2 separate regions of the Homo sapiens genome follow, and region 2 is linked to region 1. The links are contacts of gene promoters, found by promoter capture Hi-C in blood cells and fetal thymus (Javierre and others, 2016). All regions are on one chromosome and are shown on one strand. The core of a region is centred on a gene start or on the middle of the fragment in contact, and the rest is flanking DNA. Distances in the headings are between cores, read along the strand shown.

Region 1 (6,661 bases), core at 2,499-4,998:
TGTGTTATTTAGGTCAATGAGGACAGCAGCACCATGGTTCTAGGTGCAAATAGGCCCAGTGTGTCCAAGGAACAGCAACAGAGTCAAGGAAACCAGAGATGAGAATGGCTGACAGCTGGAGCACTTGTCAGGGCAGATCCTTGAGGGCCTTGCACACCAGGGGGAGGACTTGAGATTTTACCCTAATTGTGGTGGAAGCCACTGGAAACTTTTGAGCAGAGGAGTGTTATAAACTGATTCACGTTTTAAAAGGATAATTTTAGCTCAATAGTAAGTATAGCCATGAAGCCAAATTGACAAAGTGAAGGTTTTCTAGTGAGGACCTGCTTTGATGCTTGTATAAGAAAGATCTGGCATGAGCACTATCTGTTCACTGTTTGTAAGAAAACACCTGGCCGGGCACGGTGGCTCATGCCTGTAATCCCAGCACTTTAGGAGGCCAAGGCGGGTGGATCACCTGAGGTCAGGACCAGCCTGGCCAACATGGTGAAACCTTGTCTCTTCTAAAAATACAAACATTAGCTGGGCGTGGTGGCGAGCGCTTGTAATCCCAGCTACTTGGGAAGCTGAGGCAGGAAAATCACTTGAACCTGGGAGGCGGAGGTTGCACGCCACTGCCCTCCAGCCTGGGCTACAAAAGTGAAATTTCATCTCAAAGAAAAGAAAAGAAAATGCCCATCTGCTGAAGTAGTTGCAGTGACTGAAAAGTTTGCCCTCTTTGGTCATTTGAAAAGTCCACCAGTCTCCCTTTTACATTTTACTTTTACCCACTCAAAGCTTGCTTTTCCTCAGCGACAGGTCAGAAGTCAAGGTTAGAATAGGTTCATCCAAATACAGAGGCTGCCCCAGTCTACGGCCTCATCACAATCCATCCACAAGCAAGCTTTCCAGAATGGCCTCAGGTCCATCCCAGGACTGTGACTCTCAGCCATCTGCACATTGCTTACTGCCCAAAGAGTTCCTCCTGAAACTTCATCAGCACACTGTTAAGTGATAGAAGGAAACTGCAGAATAGTGTTATACTGTAGCCAGATCTCATTTTAGTAATGACATTTTTATGCCTAGAAATAATGTTTTAAATGTTCAAAAATATGAGCTAAGTGGTCAGTTCCAGCTTTTTTCCCTGTAGAGACCTGTCTCCTGCAGCCTTGGGTGGGATGATTCCAAGGCATGCTCTTCACACAGTTTTCTAGGGTTTTCCCCTAGGATTAAGCCCTAAACATCTATTATAGTAGCTGGCTTAATCTTTTATTGAGCTCCCCTTTTCTTCCCTGTATTGCTTCTTCATTACTCTGCTGGTGTTCCATGTACCTCTCAAATAACTACTTGCATTAATTCTTACCTCAGGATCTGGTTCTGAGGCACTCAAGCTGAGACATCCTCTATGTAAAATCTTCCTCCTTCCTGAGGTGGCATTAGGTGGCCACCTTCCTTGAGCCATAATGGCAGATAGGATCCAGGAGAAATGAAACTTACCAATAAAGGAGAGATCTGAAAATATTATTCCCATTATACCCATAATCCAGTAGTCTTTTTGTGAGCTTAAGCAAATACAAGACTTGCATTTAGGTATTCCTCCTTCTAAAAAATTAGGAGGTAGTTGCCTCTCCAAAATGGATTTCTCAGCCATTGCGTCTTCACCGCTTAGGTTAGGTAAAGCTTGGCTATTATATGAGGTTCTTACCTTCCAGCACAAGGGGACGCTACTTTTTTAAAAAAATATTTTTATTTCCATAGGTTATTAGGGAACTGGTGGTATTTGGTTACATGAGTAAGTTCCTTAGAGGAGATTTGTAAGATTTTGGTATACCCATCACCCGAGCAGTATACACTGAACCCAATTTGTAGTCTTTTATCTCTCACTCCCTTCCCATTCTTCCCCTCTGAGTCCCCAAAGTCCACTGTGTCATTCTTATGTCTTTGCATCCTCATAGCATAGCTCCCACTTATGAGAATATACCATGTTTGGTTTTCCATTCCCGAGTTACTTCACTTAGAATAACACTCTCCAATCTCATCCAGTTGCTGTGAATGCCATTAATTCATTCCTTTTTTCTTGCCTAGGAAACCAGGCTTCCTCCTAGACCAAGCTTTAGTCTTCACTACCTCAGGCAGAGAAAGCTTCCCTTGCATGAGGAAGTCATTGCCCAGCCTCTTCTCTGCTCTCTGTGTGCAGCTTCTCCCTCCCTGGCCTAGGGCCCTGACCCAGAATGACTCTTCAGCCCACGATTTTAATCGAAGGCCTCTAATCAACCTGTGGTACTACATGCTACACAAGATTCTCAGAAATCCCTAAGCTTTCTCATGAGCCTCCCACCCTGCTGGGAAATAAGCTGACTTATCAATTAAAGAATATCCAAAGATGTTAAGCCACTTAATCCTCCCCAAAACTCAGTGCGGTAGGGGTTGTTACCTCCCATTATACGAAAGGAAAGTGAGGCTTGGGAAGTAAAGAGACTTGTCCAAGATCACCTTCTGGAGCCACATTTTACACCACAGGTAAGAGAAAAGGGATCCGAGAGGGCACGGACACTGTGTCTTCAGACTGAGTGGGGAAGTACCATTTACCTGGGTACTTATTGGGTGCAAGTTGCATGCCCCCGGTGCTAATACACAAGGGACAAATTTATGGGCCTCCTAAAACTGTGGACAGTGCACCCGTCCAGCCAACTTCATGGGTGCACCGTGAGGCTCTGGTGATGTGGACAGGCTTATAAAACACTCTCCATACTAAGATGAGGTTGTGTTCCTGTGTCTAGGAAACGCTGGAAATTAAGTGTACAGCAATCAAAAAACCTTGACATCATCCTTGATGTCTCTCTTTTTCGCACACTCCAATTCACTCCATTAGGAAACTGTATTGGCAGAATCTAGTGAATCTTGTCCTTCAAGGCCTCTCTCTGCAAGGCTCCCATGAGCCCTGGGGGCTTATGGAGAGTTCTGGGTGGGCAGAGGAAGCCAGACTGCGTTAGGGAAGCAAATTTGGGACCTAAATTTCCTAAGAAGGTTTTAGGGGATAGGGACCCCAATCTCTAAGACCCCAGGATTCTGTTAAGATTTATTTTCTCATTCCAAATAAATGTTCACTGGCAAGCCCTAATTCTGTCTTCTCTTTCTTAAGCAGCCCTCCCTTCCTTCTCCCCACACAACTGTGTATGCTTCAGGCCCCAGAAATCCTTCCCTGCTTTGAGGTCTGGCGTTTACCAGGGCAGGGCTTGAGAATAGAGGTGTAAATTTGTCAGAAGGAAACAGGGGCCGCGCAGTAAGAGAGTAGATCCTCATATAACATGGCAGAAAGTCAATGGATAAATCAAGAAATCGCTATGTAAGTTTCTTTTTTTATTTTTTTATTTTATTTATTTATTTTTTTTTTGCGACAAGCGGGTGACCACTAGAAGAAATTAACGGAGGAATTGTTAAAAAGAGCTGTGATGGGAGGGAGAAGTGGCCTGTTGCTTTCATTATAAGCAAATCTAGATAATTTTATTTTCTAATAAGTAAGTGGGCGTTACTTTCATGTATTTTTTTAAAAGAAAATTAAATAAAAATACAAAACAAACAGAATACAAAACAGGAGAATAAAAAAGCAAACACGCACGCAACACAAAAGAGCCTTGGCGGTTGGGAGCCAGCGGGCGGGGGCGGGGGCAGGGGAGAGGGCGGGGCTTAGGACCCTGGGCGGGGCCAGGGCCGGGTCTCCTTAGGGCCCGCCCCAGCGAAGGGGCGGGGCGCAGATCTGTTTCCCTCAGACTCCATCTGCCCGGGGCCGCTAAGGGAGCGCAAGGTCAAGTTCGCCTTGGCCCCGCCTCCAGCTCAGGTACTAGGGGATCTAGACCTGAGGCTGCCCGGGCCGGAGGCAGCCTTGAGTCCCGAGACCAAACGTCGTTTCCCTCTCGGACCTCGGGCGCCGGGCCGCGCGCTGACCGACAGCCCCTGCTAGGCCCAGCAGGTCCCCTAGTCCCCCGCAGTCCCCCGAGACTCGCCGAGCGCCGTTGCTGAGCCCTGCAAATAGCAGGTAAGCGCAGCGTGGGCCCCTCGTCAGCCCACTAGGACCTGGATCGCGGCTGAATGCCCGGGCCCACGTGACTCCTGGCCCCTAACTGAGTCCTGGGAGTCCCCGCTGGGGCGACAGGTGGCGGCGGAGTGCGGAGCCATCCGGGGTGGCGCGAACCGGGGGGACAGCTCCGCGCTGCCTCTGCGCGCCGGCGGTTCTCGCTGCAGCGTGTCAACCTAACCCCCAGCTCCCCTTTGGCTATGACCAGAGTCCCGGAGACGTGGGTTCGGATCCCACCTTTAGCACTCGTGCACTCAAAGGTTAAAAATATAAGCACAGTGTCTAACAAATACTTAACGTGTTCCACTCAGTGTCCGCTGCTGGGCTAAGTGCTGGGGTTACAGTAGCAGGCCAAAAAATGTGGTGCCCTCCCCCGTGCAGCTCACAGTCCAGTGGGGGGAGACCGACAGCAAATGGATATCTATGCAAACAAGTGTGAACGTTAAAACTGTGGTCAGAGCTATGAAGATTGAAATTCTAGGGTGCTGGAGAGATTTTATCAGGGCCCCCAGCTACAAAGGCTGCTGGAACTAAAACTTTAGAGAATTCCCGGGCGGGGAACAACAGAGCAAACTCATTTTGTTGGGAGAGAATGTGGCTTGAGGAAAGGAGGGTTGGTGGGGCTGGCCTGCAGAGAGCTGGGGGGAAAGCAAGTTCCTTAACCTTAACGTTCTCCTCTGTAAAATGGGATTGTTCTACCCATTGAGAATGGAAATGGTGAATGTAAATGACTTAGCACTGCGTGATGGGTGCTGGATGTTACTCTGCACTAAACATCCAAGGCTTGATGTTGTTCTGGACTAAACACAGTGTGCCTGCCTCTCAGCAAAGTCACTTCCCCTCTCCTTGAGTCCTGTTTCTTCCTCTATCAAATAAGTGGTTCTGAGTAGAATCTCTCAAACAGCCTGTTCTCTAAAATGATGACTGGTTTAGTTGTTCATTCTTGAAACATTTAACTGGCGCCCACTTTACCCTGGCTCTGAGGATTCAGAGAGAAATCAGACAGGGGCCCTGCCCTCCTGGAGCCCATGTCCGGTGGGCCAGGTGAAATAAAGTGACAGTTCCACCCTGGCACAACCCAGAGAAAGGGTTCTTACCCACTGGCCTTGCAGGGGAAAGCTTCTCTGTTTTTCTCAGAAAGCCACCCAGGAGCCCCTGAAGGTATGGTTCACACAGCTCCACTGAGCATCAGTTACTTCTTGAATTTCATTGGTGGTTCTCAGCTTTTGGTGTCACCTCTTAAAACTGGACAGAAGACTTCCCAGAAGCAGCAACTATGCTGGGACCTTGCTAAGGACGTGTCAGACCTTGAGACCCCATGGATTTGGGAGAGCATTTTAGGTTTCAGGAAACATCTGTCAGCTGCTCACTGTATTTTATTGGCTCAAATGATCCCAATTTCTTATTTGGCTCTGTTCACAACATTGTTGTAGACAAAGAAAGTGCTCCATGAAAACCAACTGAGAGGCCCAGAGAGTAGGGGAACCCAGATGAGGCAGGAGTCTGGCACCATTTGTGGGGAGTGGTAAAAAAGAACAGGTATGATGTTAACAGAGGGTGTTGGAGGGAAGAGGAGAGAGAGCAGCCATTGTGCAGCCTCTCTTTTCCCCTCTCAGACCACTGCAGGATGCCAGCCCATGAGAAGGGAAGCTCCAGGCTTGGTGGTCACAGACCTGGCACTTCTCAGCTCTGTGACTGACCCTGGGCAGCTCACTCACCTTGTGAGTCGTGAGGATTGCTCAGGCTTAACAGGTGCTTAGCATATCGTTGGCCCTGAAGAAATATTAACTCCCACCCTCTCCTTCTCCTGAATGAACTAAAATATACATAGTTGTAGTGTCTACCTCAGAAGGTTATTATGGGGATTTAATGAGGACCTAAAATACATAGAGCAGTACCTGACATGTGGGAGGATACTACTACTATAACTATTGATATCGTTCCTTAGTCTGGACAAAAATTGATGAAACAAGACAGGGCAGAGGCGGGAGAGGGATAGGAGTGGAGGCAGTATGAGGAATTGTGCAGGGTGATTAGTCAGGGGGTTAGATTATCTGTTGCAGTGGTTTTGCCATAAAGCAAGAGCCTGGCAGCAGAGAGGGGTGTTCTGCATGATAAAGGGCCTCCTGGGCAGCTGCACTGTCAGAAAGCCCCAGAAAGCCCCAGTGTCTTTGTAGACTCAGGCCAAAGAAAGCGTAGCAAAAGTTGGAGAAAACTAGGGTTGAAAAGGGTCTAAAATGGTCTTTTTGATGATGTGTCTCTAACTGATGGCTGAGTGGGGGTTCCCTGCAGGGGGCTGCCACTGCACCTTGCAGACCCTTGCCATCCCTTTGAGCATGGTAACTGCCTGAGACCGTTCTGGCTCTTTGACCTGGGAGCTATGGAGTCTAATTTTGCAAACTTCTCACCCAGCAGAGTACCAGGCCAAAAAGGCATGAATCAGTAATGAACAAATAAATGAACATAAACCCAAGAGGCAGATTTTTCATGGTATATGTGCACGTGTGTGTGTGTGTGTGTGTGTGTGTGTATGTTTAAAAGGAATACGAAGGTAAGGAAAGATGACTAATGTATTTAAGCATTTGCTGAGGGCCAAATATTTTCATG
Region 2 (6,661 bases), core at 1,086-3,585, 1.2 Mb before region 1:
AGTGAGCTCGGAGATAGCCTATTTGACAATATACAGTCAGAGGAAGCAAACTAAAAGAAAAAGAGAGACAACCCAAATAATTAAAATCAGAGATTTTGAAGGAATACTTCCTAACTCATTCTACCAGGCCAGTATTACTGTGATACCAAAACCAGATTAAGACACATCAGAGAAAACTACAGGCCAATATATCTGATGAACATTAATGCAAAAATCCTTAGCAAAATACTAGCAAACCAAAACCAACAACACATTAAAAAGGTCACTCATCATGGCCAAGTAGAATTTATTCCAGGGATGCAAAGATGCTTCAACATACACAAATCAATCAATGTGACACATCATATCAACAGAATGAAGGACAAAAATCATATAGTCACTTCAATTGATGCTGAAAAAGCATTTGATAATATTCAGCATCCTTTCATGATAAAAATCCTAAAAAATCTGGGTAGAGAAGAAACATATCTCAACACAATAAAAGTCATATAAAACAGACCCACAACTAGTATCATACTGAATGGGGAAAAACTGAAAGACTTTCTTCTAAGATCTGTAGGAAGACAAGAACGCTCACTTTCACCTCTGTTATTCAACATTGCACTGGACGTCCTAGCTGGAGCAATTAGACAAGAGAAAGAAATAAAGAACATTCAAATTGGAAAGGAAGAAGACAAATTATCCTTGTTTGTAGATAATATAATCTTATATTTGGAAAAACCCAAAGACTCCACAAGAAAACTCAGCACTGATAAATTCAGTAAAGTTGCAGGATACAAAATCTACATCTAAAAATGAGTAGCAGTTCTATATGTCAACACCAAGCAAGCTGAAAAAGAAATTAAGAAAGTAATCCCATTCACAATACCTACAAATACTGTAAAATGCCTAGGAATTAACCAAAGAAGTGAAAGATCTCTACAATGAAAAATGTAAAATATTGATTGAAGAAATCAAAGAGGACACAAAAAAATGGAAAGATATTCCATGTTTATGGATTTGGAGAATCAATATTGTTAAAATATCCACACTACCCAAAGCAATCTACAGATTCATCACAATCCTGATCAAACTACCAGTAACATTCTTCACCGAAATAGAAAAAATAATCTTAAAATTTATATAGAATCACAAAAGACCCAGAATAGCCAAAGCTAGCTTGAGCAAAAAGAACAAAACTGTAGGAATCGTATTACCTGACTTCAAATTATACTACAGAGCTGTAGTAACCAAAACAGCATGGTATTGGCATAAAGATAGACACATAGACCAATGGAACAGAATAGATAACCCAGAAACAAATACATACATCTACAATCGACTCATTTTCAACAAAGTTGCCAAGAACGTACACTGGGGGAAAGGACGGTGTCTTCAATAAATGGTGCTGGGAAAGCCAGATATCCATATACATAAGAATGAAACTAGACTTCTATCTCTCACCATATACAAAAATCAAATCAAAATGTACTAAAGACTTAAATATAAGACCTGAAATTATGACACCATGGAAAGAAAACATTAGAGAAACTCTCTAGCACTGGACTGGGCAAAGATTGCTTGTGTAATATCCACAATCATAGACAACCAAAGCAACAAATGGACAAATGAGATCTCTTCAAGTTAAAAAGCTTCTGCACAGCAAACAATCAACAAAATGAAGAGGCAACCCACAGAACTGAAGAAAATATTTGCAAACTACTCATCTAACAATGGATTGATAACCAGAATATATAAGGAGCTCGAACAACACTGTAGGAAAAAATATAATAATCAAATTAAAAATAGACAAAATATATGAATAGACGTTTCTCAAAACAAGGCATTCAAATGGCAAAGAGGTATATGTAAAGTTGCTCAACATCGCTAATTATCAGAGAAATGCAAATCAAAACTACAATGAGATATCATCTTACCCCAGTTAAAATGGCCTTTTTCCAAAAGACCGGCAATAACACTTGCTGGTGAAGATGTGGAGAAAAGGGAACCCTTATAAACTGATGGTGGGAATGTAAATTAGTGCAGCCACTAGGGAGAACAGTTTGGAGATTCCTCAGAAAACTAAAAATAGAGCTACCATATGATCCAGCAATCCCACTGCTAGGTATATACCCAAAGGAAAGGAAATCAGTGTATCAAAGGGATATCTGCATTCTCATTTTGTTGCAGCACTATTCACAATAGCCAAGATTTGGAGGCATCCTAAGTGTCTATCAACAGATGAATGACTAAAGAAAAAGTGGTACATACACACAATGGAGTACTATTCAGCCATAAAAAAGAATAAGATCCTGTCATTAGCAACAACATGGATGGAACTAAGGTCATTATGTTAAGTGATACAAACCAGGCAAAGAAAGACAAACTTTGCATGTTCTCACTTATTTGTGGAAGCTAAAAATTAAAGCAATTGAACTCATGGAAATAGAGAGTAAAAGGTAGGTTACAAGAGGTTGAGAAGGCTAGTGGGAAGGGTAATGGGGATGGTTAATGAGTGCAAAAATATAGCTAGAATGAGTAAGATATAGTATTTAATAGCACGACGGGGTGACTACAGTCAACAATCATTTATTGGACATGTAAAAATAACTAAAAGAATATAATTAGATTGTAACACAAAAAATAAATGCCTGTATTATTTGCCTATATCAAAATATCTCATGTAACCCATGAGATACATACATACACACATATACCTGTAGTATGAACCCACACACACACAAAAGATTTCTTCAGCTTAGTTATTCATTCCCCCATCTGTCTTTTCTGCTGCTCCCTGTCTGTTTTTCTAGGATTATCAACTAGTCAGGTATCAGCAGGCTTCACAGGAGGTTTGGGAAGAGGCATGATGGAAAAACCTTTGCCCATACGGCAGCCAGGTCAAGTGTTCAGGTCATGAAACACAGAAAGGGACACCTCAGTTCCTGGGGTCTGTAAGAAAGTGGAAAAGGGAGCAGGGAGTTGTCCTGGCCTGTGGTTCATGTGTGGGGCTATGTCATTCCCTGAGGTCTCAGACCTAAAGGATTAAGTGAAGCTTTCCAGTACAGGAAGTGGAGGAGTTGCAGGAGGTGGCCATAGGTCATGTGCAAAGCCGGTTTTCCACCACCCTAACCCCAAATCCTGTTGGATTTCCACCACGTGCCAGGCTCTTTACACACTTGATGTCTTTTATTCCCCTCAACAACTGTGAGTTGAGAAAATATTATCTCACTTTATGGACGTCAAGGTAAGATAAGTGAAGTGATTTTACCAGGTAAGTAGTAGAGCTTGGTTTTGAACCCAGTAATCTCAGGTGAGGCTTTCCTCTCCTGTTATTGAATTAAATTCAAATAATATTCTTTTTATAATAAGTTTTACTCTAACTTGGTCTTTTGTAACTTCAAGGAAGTTGCCTGCAATTATTCTGTTTTTTTTTTTTTTTAAGTTTCTCTCTTTGAATATTTGATTGAACCAAATTTAAAATTTGCCAGCAGGTGGCGACACAAAACCAATAATTCAGGATACCAATCTCGGCGCTTTCCAGAGGACGGAATGGGACTTGCCACTGTGTCCTTCGCAGGTTGGGTGTCTGGCTTCATTTTGTGATTTCTGGGCTACTAGGCCCTCCACTTCTGCTCCCTGGGGGCTCATTCCGGTTTCTTAAAGTCCTCAGGACAAAGTCCCTACACCCTAGCCCTGTCTCACTTCCTGCCACTAATCTTCTCAGGTGACTTAATTCCCCTCTCCTCTCCACACTCTCCCACACACCCATTGCTTTGTCCCTGCTGGCCCCTCTGCCTGGACAACCCCTTATCCACTCCCCCATCTGGCTATTCTTTTTCATCCTTGGGGACTCAGCTAAAAGGTCACCTATGAGGAGCCCACCCTGCCACTGCCCCCCTGCCAGGCTGTGTGGGGCCCTTTCTCTGTGTGTGTCCCTGTTAGAGCACTGGTGGTCCTGGGGTCCTACTCTTTTTTGCTTGACTGCCTTCCTACTAGACATTCCCCTTGAGGGCAGGGACTGTGTCCTTTCTGTGTTAGGCCATTTTTGCATTGCTATAAAGAAATGCCTGAGGCTTGGTAATTAATTAATTAATTAATTTATTTTTAACTTTTCTTTTAAGTTCAGGGGTACATGTTACATACGTAAGTGGGTGTCATGGGGGTTTGTTGTACAGATTATTTTATCACCCATGTATTCAGCCTAGTACCCATTAGTTATTTTTCCTGATTTTCTCCCTCCTCCCACCTTCCACCTTCCGATAGGTCCCAGTGTGTGTTGTTCTCTTCTACGTGTCCAAGTTTTCTCATCATTTAGCTCCCACTTATAAGTGAGAACATGTGGTATTTTGTTTTCTCTTCCTGTGTTAGTTTTCTTAGGATAATGGCCTCCAGCTCCATCCATGTCCCTGCAAAGGACATGATCTCATTCTCTTTTACGGCTGCATAGTATTCCATGGTGTGTATGTACCACATTTTCTTTATCCAGTCTCTCATTGATGGGCATTTAGGTTGATTACATGTCTTTGTTATTGTGAATAGTCCTGCAACGAACATACACATGCATGTGTCTTTATAATAGAATGATTTATATTCCTTTGGGTATATACCCAGTAATGGCATTGTTGGGTCGAATGATATTTCTGTCTTTAGGTCTTTGAAGAATCGCCACCCTGTCTTCCACAATGTTTGAACTAATTTACACTCCCATGAACAGTGTATAAGTGTTCCTTTTTCTCCAAAACCTTGCAAGAATCTGTTATTTTTTGACTTTTTAACAATAGCCATTCTGATTGGCGTGAGATGGTATCTCATTGTGGTTTTGATTTGCATTTCTCTAATGATCAGAGATGTTAAGTATTTTTTCATATGCTTGTTGGCCTCATGTATGTCTTTTTTTGAAACGTGTCTGTTCATGTCCTTTGCCCATTTTTTAGTGGTTTTTCTTTCTTGTAAATTTGTTTAAATTCCTTATAGATGCTGGATATTAGATGTTTGTCAGATGCATAGTTTGCAAAATTTTTCTCCCATTCTGTAGATTGTCTGTTTACTCTGTTGATAGTTTCTTTTGCTGTGCAGGAGCTCTTAAGTTTAATTAGATCCCATTTGTCAACTTTTGCTTTCGTTGTGTTTGCTTTTGGCGTCTTTATCATAAGATCTTTGCCCGTGCCTATGTCCTGAACGATATTGCCTAGGTTGCCTTCCAGGGTTTTTATAGTTTTGGGTTTTACATTTAAGTCTTTAACCCATCTTGAGTTAATTTTTGCATATGGTATAAGCAAAGGGTTCAGTTTCAATTTTCTGCATATGGCTAGCCATTTATCCCAGCACTATTTATTGAACAGGGAATCCTTTTCCCATTGCTTGCTTTCATCGGGTTGGTTGAAGATCAGATGGCTGTAGGTATACAGGTTTATTTCTGGGTTCTCTATTCTATTCCACTGGTCTAGTTCTTGTTCCAGTACCAGGTTGTTTTGGTTACTGTAGCCTTGTAGTATAGTTTGAAATCAGATAGCGTGATACTTCCAGCTTTGTTCTTTTTGCTTAGGATTGCCTTGGCTATTTGGGTTCTTTTTTGGTTCTATATTAATTTTAAAATAGTTTTCTCTAGTTCTGTGAATAATGTCAATGGTAGTTTAATGGGAATAGCACTGAATCTATAAATTGCTTTGGGCAGTATGGCCATTGTAATGATGTTAATTCTTCCTATCCATGAGCATGATATGTTTTTTCATTTGTTTGTATCATGTCTGATTTCTATGAGCACTGGTTTGTAGTTATTCTTGTATAGCTCTTTCACCTCCATCGTTAGCTGTATTCCTAGGTATTTCATTCTTTTTATGGCAATTGTGAATGGGAGTTCATTCATGATTTGGCTTTCTGCTTGATGTCTTTTGGTGTTTAGGAATGCTAGCGATTTTTACACATTAATTTTGTATCCTGAGACTTTGCTGAAGTTGCTTATCGCTTAAGAAGCTTTTGGGTGAGATGATGGGGTTTTCTAGATATAGGATCATGTCATCTGCAAACAGGGATAGTTTGACTTCCTCTCTTCCTATTTGAATGTTCTTTATTTCTTTCTCTTGCCTGATTGCCCTAGCCAGAACTTCCAATACCGTGTTCAATAGGACTGGTGAGAGAGGGCATCCTTGTCTTGTGCTAGTTTTCAAGGGGAGTGTTTCCAGCATTTGCCCATTTATTATGATGTTGGCTGTAGGTTTGTCATAGATGACTATTATAATTTTGAGGTATGTTCGTTCAATACCTAATTTATTGACAGTTTTTAACAGGAATGGATGTTGAATTTCATTGAAGAGGCTTGGTAATTTATAAAGAAAAGCAGTTTTAATTGACTGACAGTTCTGCAGGCTGTACAGAAAGCGTGGCACTGATACCTGCTTCTGGGAAGGCCTCAGGAAGCTTGTGATCATGGTGGAAGGCAAAGGGGGAACAGGTGTCTCACATGGCCAGAGTAGGAGCAAGAGAGCAGGAGGTGCCATACACTTTTAAACAACCAGATCTTGCATGAACTCACTCATCACCAAGGGAATGATGCCAAGCCATTCATGAGGGATATGCCCTCATGACCCAAACACCTCCACTAGACCCCACCTCCAATACCGGGGATTACATTTCAACATGAGATTTGGAGAAGCACAAATATTCAAACAATATCACTATC

Evidence for each region. The method cuts DNA at HindIII sites, captures the fragments that hold promoters and counts their contacts. A CHiCAGO score of 5 or more calls a contact.
Region 2: a fragment that was not itself captured here is called in contact with the fragment with the promoter of NMNAT3 in region 1 in 2 of 17 cell types (total B cells and M2 macrophages); the score reaches 6.4 in total B cells.

What each region holds. Positions count from the first base shown.
Region 1 is chr3:139,675,059-139,681,719 of GRCh38, reverse strand. NMNAT3 (nicotinamide nucleotide adenylyltransferase 3) reads left to right here and starts at 3,748. Exons shown (of 7, transcript NM_001401600.1): 1 at 3,748-4,015. RefSeq lists a silencer at 3,645-3,694. The HindIII fragment of the contact is 2,876 bases long and covers 2,300-5,175 here.
Region 2 is chr3:140,860,722-140,867,382 of GRCh38, reverse strand. No RefSeq gene overlaps it. Among named protein-coding and RNA genes, the nearest start is that of SLC25A36, 78 kb to the left of the region's middle. RefSeq lists an enhancer at 3,476-3,525. The HindIII fragment of the contact is 1,403 bases long and covers 1,634-3,036 here.